2 separate regions of the Homo sapiens genome follow, and region 2 is linked to region 1. Evidence: promoter capture Hi-C in human tissues and cell types (Jung and others, 2019). All regions are on one chromosome and are shown on one strand. Each heading gives the region's core, a stretch centred on a gene start or on the middle of the fragment in contact. The rest is flanking DNA. Distances are from core to core; before and after follow the strand shown. Region 1 holds the start of FOXS1 (forkhead box S1). Region 2 overlaps XKR7 (XK related 7).

Region 1 (7,159 bases), core at 2,797-5,296:
CGGAGGGCGTGTTCACCAAGCGCCTGTGCCAGGGCCTGTACTGGCGCAGCCCAACAAGGTGGAGCGCAGGCGCACCTGCCACCTGCTGAACACACGCGGCTTCCTCCAGGCGGTAGGACGGCTGGAGGAGTGGAACAGAGTGGCGTGGGAACGGGGGCATAAGGACGCGGTGGGCAAAGGAACATGAACAGAGGAGAGTGGGCACATTAAATGCAGGCCCAGGGGGATGGGCCTAAGGGTGCTGGGCATGAAGTGGACATTGACACAAAGAATATGGCACAAAAGCACCAGGGATGGGAAAGAATACAGGCACCAGGAGGGCTGGGGGCACATATACGGATACAGGCGTATATGGGGTGCTGGCATGGAGAAGGCTTGAGGCGTTGGGTGTGCAGCATAAGAATAGGGCTTCGGTACATGTGTTGGCTTAGGGCATAAGGTGGATGTGAGGTGCACCAAGCACGAGATAGGTATAGGTGAGTGGCAGTGGGCATGGGTTGGGCATAAAGGCATGGGGTGGGCATAGGGGCCAAGGAAGAGACATAAGACCTGGAAGTGGGCACAGATGTGGGACATGGGACAGGCATAGGAACGTGGAAGTGGGCCTAGGGTACAGGCACACAATGGGATGTGGGCTTACAGGACTTGGGCATGGGAAATGAGCACAAGATGGGCACCAGTGGGTTGCCTAGTTCTTGCCCAGTCCCTATAGTCTCAGTGTCGTATAATTGTGTGCCCACCTGCAGGATGGTCACCGGACCCAAAGTACCAGATCTGTCTGTGCTTCGGTGAGGAGGACCCGGGCCCCACACAGCACCCCAAGGAGCAGCTCATCATGGCGGACGTGAGTCACTCCTTCCACTCCAGCCAAGAAGCACGCCCTCCAGTCCCCTCCAGACAGCCCTTCCCACACTCCCTCCAGTCCCAGCTCTGCCTCTGACACTTCTAGCACCCTCGGGTCTGTAGGACCCTACCTGGAAAATGGGGGTAGGGATGGGGCTGTAACTAGGGCTGTGACTTCCCATGGGAACATCCGAGGCGGGAAATGGAGAGGGTCTGCTCATCGCCCCACCCGCCCCCGCAGGTGCAGGTGCAGCTTCGGCCTGGGAGCTCGTCCTGCACTCTAAGTGCCTCAACCGAGCGCCCAGATGGGTCCTCAACCCCTGGCAACCCCGATGGCATCACTCACCTTCAATGCAGCTGCCTCCATCCTAAGCGAGCCGCTTCCTCTTCTTGTACCCGCTGAAGGCAGCCCCCAACAGGGGGGCTCCCTACTCCCACCCAACCCTGCCCACACTAAGCCCATAGACTTGGGGCCTCCCCCGGCACATCACCCAGGTCTGCCGGACGGCAGAGGTGGATCGCGGCCTTCCACTCCTCTGTCACGGGGCCCCGGAACTCGAGAGTAGGCCACACCGCCCCCCAGCTGGGCATGGGGCTTCGGCAGGAAACTGAACTTGATCTTGAGGCCCCAGAAAGGCAGCAACTGGAGCAGAAGCAAGACTTCATCTCTTGCTGACAGCCCAATTTGTCAATAGCGCTTTCCTCAGAGCCAGCCTTAACCTGCTGTTGAGTCCATTAAAACGTTTGCTTAAAGTTTTTACCAATAATTAGATCATCAGGGTTGTTTAGTGTGGGATCAAGCCATAACAAAACTGCCTAGCCTCTCAGGGGCCTAGAATTTACAGAACCTTCCTCCTCCCTGCAGCTAGTCTCTCTTCTTTATTCTGGGGGCTGGGAAGGATCCCAAAACAGGGAACTTGGCCGAACCCTGGGCTTTGGATGCTAACCACTGAAGTACCAGCACCTGTAGGATGCTGTCTTTGAAGAAACTGAGGCGGACCTCCAAATGCAGCCCTAAGGCAGAGGTCAACGTGGAAGACCAGCCCTTCTCCAAGCCCCACTGGTCTTTGCAAGCTGTACGTTGTAGGCAATCTGAGAACTGGAAAGGGGGACTACAACCAGAAAGTTGGTTACCCTGCCATGGGAATAAAGTAGCTGTTTTCCACCCCACATATCAGGCCTTTTATTCTTTTCTGAGTTCTGATTTTATTTATAGGAATCCTCTTACAGATGCCAATATTGTAAGTCTCTTTTAATGATACATTAATAAGCCACCTTCATGGGGGGAAAACTGTGATTCGATAAAGGACAGAAATCAATCAATTGCTGTTTGTTTAGTCATTTAGCAGACATTTCTTGAACACCTACTCTGTTCCAGGCCTCTGTTCCAGTGTCCAGTGTGTGACTCTGGGGGTACAGCAAAACAGCATGCTCTTTACTCTCTTGGAGTTCACATTCTGTTTTCTAGTGGGGACCCAGCGACTCTCCGCTACCCCTGCCCCTCACTGAAGAGGCAGTATTTAGGAATTACAGAATCCTAGGCTCATATCCAGCTTTGTCACTCACTAGATGTGGGACATCAGGGAATTTACTTACCTTCTCTGAGCCTCAGAGCCCTCATCTATTCAAAAGAAGCAATGAAGCCCTCCAGAGCAGGGTTGGTTGAAGAAGTAAGTGTAGGGTTGGGGAGGTGAGCTGGCCTGGTACAGAGTGGGTGAGCAGTGACTTGGGAGTGGGAGAGCAGAGAGGATGCCGTCCCCTCCTCCAGAAGGCCTGACTGTTCTGGGCCTGACTCTCTGGACCTCCCGACCCCAGGCTGCAGCTGGGGTAGCCTCAGTTCAGAGTGACAATCCGCAGCCATGTTCATATCCCTACTCCATACTAGGCTCTTGATGAGGGTGCTGCATTCTGTGTAAGGGGAACCTGTTGCCTCCCCACCATGGCCTGGACAGCTGAGGAGTCACCAGCTCCATGTTAGAGATGGGGAAACTGAGGCTCAGCCAAGGTCTTGAGGTGCCTCTTGGGAGGGAGAATGTCTCTCCCCAGATAGCTGTCCTTCCCACACCAGTCACTAGGGGGCGACAGGGATGCAGCAGAACTGAATTTCATGGGCTCTCCTTACCATCCTAGGTGCCCCTCCCTGCAGACACCCCAGAGCTAGGAGGATGGGGTAGGAGTGGTGTGGCCCCAAGGCCTCTGCACCGCAGGAGAAGGCAGTAGACCACAGGCCTGGGAGAAGAGGGAAAAGCAGGAGTAGAGGTAGGGATTAGAGAAGCCCCTGGGGCTTCTCTCACTCTAGGGGGACTGGGCTCAGGCCCTGCCTCTCTCTCCTCTCTCTCTCTCTCTCTCTCTCTCTCTCTCTCTATTCATTCCTTTCACTCCTTGTGTTTGCACCTGTGTCTCTCAGTATCTCCTTTCTCTCTGGCTTTGTGGATTTCCTTGTTTCTGCCTGCTCAGTGATTCTCACTTTCTCCGTATACTACGTGTGTGTGTGTGTGTGTGTGTGTGTGTGTCTGTGTCTGTGTCTCTGTGTTTCTGTGTGTGTATGTCTCTGTGTGTCTGTGTATGTGCTTGTGTGTGTGTCTGTGTGTATGCCTATGTGTCTGTGTGTGTCTGTCTCTGTGTATATGTGTGTGTGTGCTTATGTCTGTGTGTGTGTGTCTGTGTGTGTGTCTGTGTCTGTGTGTCTCTGTGTGTCTGTACGTGTATGTCTGTGTGTCTCTGTGTGTCTGTACGTGTATGTCTGTGTGTCTCTCTGTGAGTGTCTGAGAGGCTCTGGGTGTCTCTGTCCGTTGTGTCTGCCTCTGTCTTATCTTTGTCTCTCCCTCTTTCTCCCTCTTGTGATGTCTCTACCTCTCTCTGTCTCTATCTCTTTTTTCCCTGTCTCTGTTTCATATGTTTCTGCCTCTGTCTCATTTTGTTTTTGTCTCTGTCCCGCTCAGTTTCACATCCTGTCCCTCCCCAGCCACCACCACCCAGCACACGTGGGCTGAGGGTCTCAGTCCCTTCCTTCCCAACTCCTCATCCCTGGCAGCTGCTCGGCTTCCCACTACTGGCCTCTCCTGCCCGCCTCTTTTGGGCCTTGTGGGAGTGGGGCGAGGGAGGAGGGGAGGATGGCTCAGCAGACCCACCCCTTTTTGCCTTTCCAGGCTGGGAGGCTGGGCCAGTGGACCTTTTAACCAGCCTGGGCAGGCTATTCCGGACGCCAGCCCTGGAAGCTGAGCCTGACCCAGCAGGTCCCAGCAGCCTGGCAGCCCGGCCAGCATGCAGCAGCAGCCTCTGCCCGGGCCTGGCGCCCCCACAACTGAGCCAACCAAGCCTCCCTACAGCTACATCGCCCTTATTGCTATGGCCATCCAGAGCTCACCGGGGCAGCGGGCCACCCTCAGTGGCATCTACCGCTACATCATGGGCCGATTCGCCTTCTACCGCCACAACCGGCCCGGCTGGCAGAACAGCATCCGCCACAACCTGTCACTCAACGAGTGCTTTGTCAAGGTGCCCCGCGATGACCGCAAGCCAGGCAAGGGCAGCTACTGGACGCTGGACCCTGACTGCCACGACATGTTTGAGCACGGCAGCTTCCTACGCCGCCGCCGCCGCTTCACCCGGCAGACAGGTGCTGAGGGCACCCGGGGCCCCGCCAAGGCACGCCGTGGACCCCTCAGGGCGACCAGCCAGGACCCAGGAGTCCCCAACGCCACGACCGGCAGGCAGTGCTCATTCCCACCAGAGCTGCCAGATCCCAAGGGCCTAAGCTTTGGGGGTCTGGTGGGGGCCATGCCAGCCAGTATGTGCCCAGCAACCACTGATGGCAGGCCTCGGCCACCCATGGAGCCCAAAGAGATTTCCACGCCCAAGCCTGCATGCCCAGGGGAGCTCCCCGTGGCCACCTCATCTTCCTCATGCCCAGCGTTTGGCTTTCCTGCCGGCTTCTCAGAGGCTGAGAGTTTTAATAAGGCCCCTACGCCCGTCTTGTCCCCGGAATCAGGCATCGGGAGCAGCTACCAGTGTCGGCTGCAGGCACTGAATTTTTGCATGGGGGCTGACCCAGGCCTTGAGCACCTCTTGGCCTCAGCAGCCCCCTCCCCTGCACCACCCACCCCTCCAGGCTCACTCCGGGCCCCACTGCCCCTGCCAACTGACCACAAGGAACCCTGGGTTGCAGGTGGCTTCCCTGTCCAGGGAGGCTCCGGCTACCCATTGGGGCTGACCCCCTGCCTATACCGGACGCCAGGAATGTTCTTCTTTGAGTAAAGGCAGCCTCACCTCGGGCAGTCCCTGCAGGTCCCTCACCCTCCGGGCTGAGCCTGGCTCTAGGACCTGAAGAACTCTCGAAGGACCCAGCCCTGGTGAGCCAAGGACAACCACACAGAAAGCCAGGATTGAAGCGGTGCTCAGCCAGGCCCCTGGGGCCTCCGGACAAACTTGGGGGTGAGGGGAAGCAGGGCCTCTTGGGATTTACTCTGTGGCTCTCAGGGCCAATAAAGCCATGTGATGATGAGGGTCAGCTTGCCTGATGGCTGGGGGCTGAGGGCCAGGGTGCCTGCTTGTATGTGGGGGTGGCTGTGGCTGTGGGGTTGTGCAGCGGGGGCAGAGACCCTTGGTGGGAATATCTCACATGAGGTTTTCTCCTGCTGGGGACTTTCTCAGGGAGTTTCCTAGAAAGGGAGAGGAAGGGGAGGTAGGGAATGGGGAGCAGGGAGAGGAGGATACAGGCAAGGGAGAGACTGGGCAGGGGCAAGACTGGGCTGGCCTGAGGGACTGATTCTCCAGTCTCAGATGCTGGGACTTAGCCCCCGTAGGTGCAGTCATCATAACCCTGACAATTTGTGACACTGATCCTGTCCCGGGCTTGTATGTATCATCTCACCTGTGTGATTTGGAAAGTTGGCCCCGTTTACAGTGGTGGAAACAGGCTCGCCAGCTCCAACTCCAGAGGGCAAATGGGTGGCAGAGGGTAAATCAAAACCACATCTGTGTGGCTCTACCCTCCAGCCTCTGACCTGCAGCTTGAGTGAGGACATAAGGGTGGAGAAGAGGGTCAGGGCAGAGCTGGTGGTGGCCCCCAGAGGTGGGAGGGCTTTGCTGCAATCCTGGAAGGCCAGGGCTAGAAAGGCACCCTTTACCCATTGTGCAGACAGGGCACCTAGGGTTCAAAAGGCAGCACCTACCCCCTGTTTGGACTTCCCACATTAATGTGGGAGCTTCCCTGAGCCCCCAGCTCCATGAGGTCCTCTGGTGACTCTTTAAGACGGCATTTCTTGGGGCCAGCAGCATGGGCTGTGACTGTCCTAGGTACCATTCAGAAGTGACTGAGCCCTGACCTTTGACCTTCTCTGACTATCCCTTCGCGAGGAAGCAGGAGAAATGGGGATATTCTTGGTCCTCGTTAGAGGAACAGAGAAGGAATCTGAAACATCGCTGTCCTCACAGACCCCAGCACTGGAGGAGCAGAGGCGAATGGCTTCCTCCCCAGAGCCTCAGTCCTCCTATCTGGATCATGGGCATAGGGAGAGGAGGGAGGGATGCTGGGGCACCCCCATTCTGGTTTTTGGCATGTGGTCTAGAGTGTCTTATGTCCCACGAGGTTACACTCAGGGGGCTGGAGACCCCTTCTTGGGCAGGCAGCCCTCTCCCCTCCAGAGGCCCTCCCTTGCCCAGGCAGCCCCGAGGACTCCAGCCTTTGCTGCTCCCTCCTCCCCCGACAGGTCCCCTGGGGCCTGGGAGGAAGCGAGCCCGGCTGGACAGCCCGAACTGTCTGGTTCCCACAGTCTCAGAGCTGGGGTGGAGGAGGACCTGCAGGGTGAGAGGGGCTGGGAAAACGCCTGGCCAGCTGTGGGGCCCCTCCCCACCATGCCTGCTGAACCCCAGCCTGGAACCCATCAAACAATGGGGAGGAGGAGCAAGGGTCTGTGCAGCCTCCTATGGGCAGCTTCATGGGGCAGAGGGAAGAGGAAAGGCCCTCTGTGTGCAGGGCATGGTGAGGAGGGGGAAGGAGGCTCTTGTGTGAGTCTGTACCATGGCGTGTGCCTGTGTGGATCAGTGTGTCTCAGGCTGCGTGTGTGTATATGACAGAGAAAGAGAGAGATGCAGAAAGACAGACCCTGCAGAGGCAGACAGACAGATTCAAAGGGGTGAGAGTTCTTTCTCAGTTGGGTCAGGGAAGGAGGCCTCTGCTGGGCGCTGTTCCCGTTGCACATTCCTGTGGAGCCCTGGTGACCCCAGTCCCTTCCCAGCCTGGGTTCTGAGCTACTAGGAGGATGGGAAGCCGGCTGGGCTGGGGGAGCCCAGGCCTCTGCCGCTGTACTCCCCA
Region 2 (7,036 bases), core at 2,712-5,211, 140 kb before region 1:
CCTACACTATGAAATCACCGTTTATTTATTTATTTTCCATTCTCCCACTGTGAATCCATGAGGGCAGGGATCTCGTCTGTCTTGATCACCCCTGTGTCCCCAGCATCAGTGCCTGTAGAATAGGCACTGATGCATTATTGAGTAGGCACTGACTATTTGCTGAATGAATACATGTGAGTATCTGTGTGCATCTCCCTCCTGACCTTACAGGGCTCTGGGGTTTCTCTGCTTGAAGTTGCAAAGAGCCAGGACACCTCACAGGCTCCTCCTGCCCTCGCTGACTCATTCTTGACCTTCTTCCTACAGGAAGCCCTCTCTGATGCCCCTCTAGCCCAGTTAGGCCTCACTTTCTCTAACAGCTCTCAGGCTTGAACTGCGTGAAGCCTGAAGTGAGCCAGACACTGTAGTCCATGCTGTTAACCTAACACGCAACTTCTGCTGTCCCCATTTCATAGATGAGGAAACAGAGGCCCTCAGTCTATTTGGAATCTAACTTACTGACCCCCAGTCTTGTGCTCAGAGAAGAAGCTTGTCCGGGAAGAAACTGGAAGAGCAGATGAGTGTACATCTCAAAAGTGTACAAGTGGGAGCAAAAAGGCCACACCTAGAGAGAAGAGTAGAAGCTAGAGTATGAAATCCCTCCTGTCAGGGACCCAAAAACCTGTCTCTTCTGAACCCCACTGCCTCTGTGAACAGGTGGCAGGATCGAGAAATGAATAGGAGCTCATTCCCTTCTCCCCAGGCCCATCCTACCCTCCTCACGGGAAATTTCCAGTGTCCCCCAGTCCCCCAGAGTTTGGGGGCTGCTCTCTAATGGGCAGGAGGGGAAAAGGACGAGGGGATCCCATGTTCTTGAGAAGCCAGGAAGCTTCTGGCAACGTCTGCATCACCCCATCTCTCTCCTGTTCTTCGTTCCTGAGTCACCCCAAGTCTCTGGTTCTAGGTCAGAGTTTCTGGCCTGCACCTCAGTCCATTCAGACAGTCAAACCTGGGCCCAAGCCTGGACCCATCCCTTTGACCTCAGATCCTGAGTCATTGTCTCTGTCTGTGGCTCAGATCAGCCTGTCTATTGTGTCTGTCCCTTGAATGCAGGGCTAGCCTATTTACCATTCCTGCATTTCTGTCAGGAGTCTGTTAGTCAGTCAGTCTCGCCCTGGAATCCTGGCTCAGTCCCTGGCTCAGTTCCAAAATCCTGGAATCCTGTCCCTTGGACTGTGGGTCACATAGTCTCTCAGATACTATGTCCTATTGGTCTGACCCTGTGATCCTGGGTCAGCCTGTCTGCCTGCCCTTAGAGGCCAGGAGCTTCAGTCTCTGTCCCCTGGATGCCAGACAGCCTGTCTATCCTGTGAATACGAGGTCTGCTTTTCTGTCTGTCTTGATACTGGGTCCACTTGGTGATCTGTCTCTCTGTGTCTTGAATGCTGGATCTGTTTGGTGGTCTGTCTGTCTGTCTGTGTCTTAATACTGGGTCCTCTTGGAGGTCTGTGTGTCTGTGTCTTGATACTGGGGCCGCTTTGTGGTCTGTCTGTCTGTGTCTTGGATGCTGGGTCTGTTTGGTGGTCTGTCTGTCTGTGTCTTGGATGCTGGGTCTACTTGGTGGACTGTCTGTGCCTTGGATACTGGGTCTGCTTGGTGGTCTGTCTGTCTGTGTCTTGGATGCTGGGTCTACTTGGTGGTCTGTCTGTGCCTTGGATACTGGGTCTGCTTGGTGGTCTGTCTGTCTGTGTCTTGGATGCTGGGTCTGCTTGGTGGTCTGTCTGTGCCTTGGATACTGGATCTGTTTGGTGGTCTGTCTGTCTGTGTCTTGGATGCTGGGTCTGCTTGGTGGTCTGTTTGTCTGTCTGTGTCTTAATACTGGGTCCTCTTGGAGGTCTGTGTGTCTGTGTCTTGATACTGGGCCCGCTTTGAGGTCTGTTGTCTGTGTCTTGGATGCTGGGTCTGTTTGGTGGTCTGTCTGTCTGTGTCTTGGATGCTGGGTCTACTTGGTGGTCTGTCTGTGCCTTGGATACTGGATCTGTTTGGTGGTCTGTCTGTCTGTGTCTTGGATGCTGGGTCTGCTTGGTGGTCTGTCTGTCTGTGCCTTGGATACTGGATCTGTTTAGCGGTCTGTCTGTCTGCTGTGCCTTGGATGCTGGGTCTGCTTGGTCGTCTGTTTGTCTGTGTCTTGGATGCTGGGTCGGCTTGGTGGTCTGTCTGTCTGTCTGTCTGTGTCTTGGATACTGGATCTGTTTGGTGGTCTGTCTGTCTGTGTCTTGGATGCTGGGTCTGCTTGGTTGTCTCTCTGTCTGTCTGTCTGTCTGTGTCTTGGATGCTGGGTCTGCTTGGTGGTCTGTCTGTGTCTTGGATGCTGGGTCTACTTGGTGGTCTGTCTGTGCCTTGGATACTGGATCCGTTTGGTGGTCTGTCTGTCTGTGTCTTGGATGCTTGGTCTGTTTGGTGGTCTGTCTGTCTGTGTCTTGGATGTTGGATCTGTTTGGTGGTCTGTCTGTCTGTGTCTCAGATGCTGGGTCTGCTTGGTGGTCTGTCTGTCTGTGTCTTGGATGCTGGGTCTGCTTGGTGGTCTGTCTGTCTGTGCCTTGGATACTGGATCTGTTTAGTGGTCTGTCTGTCTGTCTGTGTCTTGGATGCTGGGTGTGCTTGGTGGTCTGTCTGTCTGTCTGTGCCTTGGATGCTGGATCTGTTTGGTGGTCTGTCTGTGTCTTGGATGCTTGGTCTGCTTGGTGGTCTGTCTGTCTGTGTCTTGGATGTTGGATCTGTTTGGTGGTCTGTCTGTCTGTGTCTCAGATGCTGGGTCTGCTTGGTGGTCTGTCTGTCTGTGTCTTGGATGCTGGGTCTGCTTGGTGGTCTGTCTGTCTGTGCCTTGGATACTGGATCTGTTTAGTGGTCTGTCTGTCTGTCTGTGTCTTGGATGCTGGGTGTGCTTGGTGGTCTGTCTGTCTGTCTGTCTGTGCCTTGGATGCTGGATCTGTTTGGTGGTCTGTCTGTGTCTTGGATGCTTGGTCTGCTTGGTGGTCTGTCTGTCTGTGTCTTGGATGCTGGGTCTGCTTGGTAGTCTGTCTGTCTGTCTGTCTGTGTCTTGGATGCTGGGTCTGCTTGGTAGTCTGTCTGTCTGTCTGTCTGTCTGTGTCTGGATGCTGGGTCCGCTTGGTGGTCTGTCTGTGTTTTGGATGCTGGGTCTGCTTGGTAGTCTGTCTGTCTGTCTGTCTGTCTGTGTCTGGATGCTGGGTCCGCTTGGTGGTCTGTCTGTGTTTTGGATGCTGGGTCTGCTTGGTAGTCTGTCTGTCTGTCTGTCTGTCTGTCTGTGTCTTGGATGCTGGGTCTGCTTGGTAGTCTGCCTGTCTGTCTGTGTCTTGGATGCTGGGTCTGCTTGGTAGTCTGTCTGTCTGTGTCTTGGATGCTGGGTCCACTTGGTGGTCTGTCTGTGTCTTGGATGCTGGGTCTGCTTGGTGGTCTGTCTGTCTGTGCTTTGGATACTGGATCTGTTCGGTGGTCTGTCTGTGTCTTGGATGCTAGGTCCACTTGGTGGTCTGTCTGTCTGTGTCTTTTAGTCCCTCGACTGCTTGGTCCATCTGCTGATTTGTTGCTCAGCTCGTGGCTTGGTGTGACTGCCAGTTTTCTGGCCATCCTCCCCTGCCTGCTCCTCCTCTCCCTGACTCTGGGTCTCTCTCTGTCTGTCTGTGTCTCTCACATCCTCAGCTCCTCCATCTGTCGGTCTCAGCATTTCCGAGTGTGTGTTCTCGCCCCTCCCCACTCCCCCTCACAGTTCTGGGCCAAACACACAGCAGCTTCCAGTGGCTCCCCCGCTGCCTCTCCATCCAGGAACCACCCTCATGCTGGCTAGCTCCCTAGTCTCAATGCGGGCCAGGGTCTGCAGATCCCTACAGAGTGAACAGGGTGGGGCTGGGAGGCAGATGGGAGAGCCAGGACTGATGGGCAGGGGTAGGACATCCCCCCAGCTGAGCCCATAGTTAGTCTGTAGGTCTGCAGGGGGACAGTGTGCAGTGGTTACTAATAAGGATAACAGCTCACACTTACTGAGTCCCAGCTGGATGACAGGCTGTGCTGAGACTTTTTATACATATGAACGTATCCATCCCTCTTAACAAATCTTCGAAGCAGGGACTACCATTATCCTTATTTCACAGATGAGAAACAGACCTAGAAAGGGACCAGGACTCGTCCCAAGTCACACAGCAAGTTAGTGCCAGATCTAGGACTCAGCCCTGGCTCTTCATGGCCTCCTGAGCCAGAGCAGGGATGAGGAAGGACAAGTCTCATCCCACGGGATTCCCCTGTTGCCTCGGCTGCCTACGTGGCAGCTTCCCTCGCCTGGAAGGTGTGCAGTACGGCTGCCCAGCAGGATCCTGATAGGACCCCGGTAAGACACAATGGACCTCAGGTTTCACTTGGGATTATATGGGTTTAGAGAAAACTGGGAGACAGGCAACAATAGTAAGTGAAGAGTCAGGAGACCAAGGTGATTCCAGGAAAGCCCAGCTCCTCGATGGGCCTCAATCTTCTTCTATAAAATGGGCCCAAGCCCAAGTAACTGATTCTTGTCTACACCAAGGGATGTTCATCAAGCCCCTCCCCACCCATCCAACTCTGATAACATTAATGTTCCACAGCTATGTCCTGAACCCAAGTCCTTCTCTCTACCCTGGTGTCAACACCCTGGTCCAAGCCACCTCATTCCGGCAGCTTCCCTGGGGTGCTTGCTTCCATCCTTGCCCTCTTCAAGCCTTGTCTTCACACAACAGCAGGGGGATCTTGTAAACTCCTAGGTAAGGGCAGGCCACTCCCCACTACTTGTTTTTTTTTTTGAAATGGAGTCTCACTCTTGTCACCCAGGCTGGAATGCAGTGGCATGATCTTGGCTCACTGCAACCTCCACGTCCCGGGTTCAGGTGATTTTCGTGCCTCAGCCTCCCAAGTAGATGGGATTACGGGTGTGCGCCACCACGCCTGGCTAATTTTTGTTTTTTAGTAGAGACAGGGTTTCACCATGTTGGTCAGGCTGGTCTCAAACTCTTGACCTCAAGGGATCCACTTGACTCGGCCTCCCAAGTGCTGGGAGTGAACCACTGTGCCTGTCCACTCCCCGCTATTTATTTATTTATTTATTTATTTATTTATTGAGACAGAGTCTTGCTCTGTCACCCAGGCTGGAGTGCAATAGCACGATCTTGGCTCACTGCAACCTCTGCCTCCTGGGTTCAAGCAATTCTCCCTGCCTCAGCCTTCCAAGTAGCTGGGATTACAAGTGCCTGCCACCATGCCTGGCTAATTTTTGTATTTTTAGTAGAGACAGGGTTTTGCCCTATTGGCCAGGATGGTCTCGAACTCCTGACCTCAGGTGATCCGCCTGCCTCGGCCTCCCAAACTGCTAGGATTACAGGCATAAGCCACCGTGCCCGGCCCCCACTACTTTTAAAATTAACTCTTCACCATGACCCTTGAGGTCCAGGAGGACACAACCTTTGTCCCTCCCGGGGACCCTCTCCCACCACCCTCCCTCTCTCCCATGCTCCAGCTCCTGCTTCCTGAACACACCAAGCTCACTCCAACCCCAGGGCCTCTGCCTAGAAAGGTCCTCACTAACGCCTGTCAAACTCTCATTCTCCCATCTCAGCTCAATGTCACCTCTTCAGAGAGCTTTCCCAGCCATCCCCCTCACCACTGCCTGTAACCCCGCAAAGCACTTCTGCAGCCTCTCTGGTCACTTTCTGTCATGTTACCCTGTTTTTTTAAGTAACACACATCACAACCTGAAACCATCTCATTTACTTGTTTACATATTTATTGCCTGTCTTTCCCCTAGCACTGCAGGCTCCATGAGAGTGGGGACCATGTTTATGGTGTCCTCTGCTACATGCCCAGTGCCTGGCACATCGTTAATGTACAGTCATTTGTTGAGTGAGTGAATGAATGAAGAGAGTGATTATACTTTATAAACTCTGCTTTGTAAACTTCTTAAGTAAAAGTGGCCAAGAACAGAGGGAAAGAACCCAGGTGAAAGAGTCAGGCCTGGGCTCAGATCCTAGCTCCATCTCTTACTGACTATGTAGCCCCAGACAAGTTGCCTCCCGTCTCTGGACCCATCAGCCCAATACCCATTTACAGGGTGGCTGTGAAATCAGAAAGTAGTAATGTGTGTAAAACGCCCAGCTCAGTGTTGGGCACTTGATCAATGGAAGGTTTCAAGGAGCTTTTTGAATCAGAGGCCCCATCAGTAAGAAGGAAGTTTGGTTTCTGGCACAGCTGAGACCCACTTCTAGGCTGGCTTTCCCCTGGTGCTCGTTGAACCTGTCCCCGAGGGACACTGGGTCAGAAAGCACCTTTGGGACAGGTTCACAGGGCAAGTATTCTTTGGGGTCTCTGCCTGCCCCCCAGAAAATAACTACCACTCATCAAATACCTTTTATATGTACTTCGCTAAAATCTTCACTGTGGTCCTGTGAGGTTCATGGACATAATCTCCATTTTCCAGATGAGGAAACTTAGTGTCAGAAAAGGGAAGGTTCATTTGACATTTATTCACCAAGCCTTTTTTTTTTTTTTTTTTGAGACAGAGTCTCTCTGTCGCCTGGGCTGGAGTGTAGTGGCTCGATCTCAGCTCACTGCAACCTCCACCTCCTGGATTCAAGTGATTCTCTTGCCTCAGCCTCCCGAGTAGCTGGGATTACAGGCATGCGCCACCACACCCCAGCTGATTTGTGTATTTTTAGTAGAGACAGGGTTTCGCCATGTCAGCCAGGCTGGTCTCGAACTCCTGACCTCAGGTGATCCACCCACCTCAGCCTCCCAAACTACTGGGATTACATGCATGAGCCACCATGCCCAGTCCACCAAGCACTTTTGAGTACCTTCTATGTACCCCAAACTGTGCTAAAATGGCTCGTGGACACAATGGTGTGCAAGACAGACCCAACCCACTGGTGGAACTCAGTTTAATGGGGACCTGAAGATTAACTAAATCATCAAGTAAACATGTAACAACAAGCATGTTCCATGGGCTCCAGAAATGCTCCAA

Evidence for each region. The method cuts DNA at HindIII sites, captures the fragments that hold promoters and counts their contacts. A contact is called where the count stands out against the background at its distance.
Region 2: a fragment that was not itself captured here is called in contact with the fragment with the promoter of FOXS1 in region 1 in 1 of the 25 tissues and cell types used here (lymphoblastoid cells).

Annotation. Positions count from the first base shown.
Region 1 is chr20:31,842,491-31,849,649 of GRCh38, reverse strand. FOXS1 (forkhead box S1) reads left to right here and starts at 4,046. Exons shown (of 1, transcript NM_004118.4): 1 at 4,046-5,347. The coding sequence starts at 4,108. The coding sequence ends at 5,100. It also overlaps a transcript of DUSP15 not described here. RefSeq lists an enhancer at 4,105-4,662. The HindIII fragment of the contact is 12,044 bases long and covers 1-6,427 here.
Region 2 is chr20:31,982,052-31,989,087 of GRCh38, reverse strand. The region is part of intron 1 of XKR7 (XK related 7); the gene reads right to left. Among named protein-coding and RNA genes, the nearest start is that of XKR7, 17 kb to the right of the region's middle. RefSeq lists enhancers at 1-166, 167-1,001 and a silencer at 871-1,071. The HindIII fragment of the contact is 6,526 bases long and covers 699-7,036 here.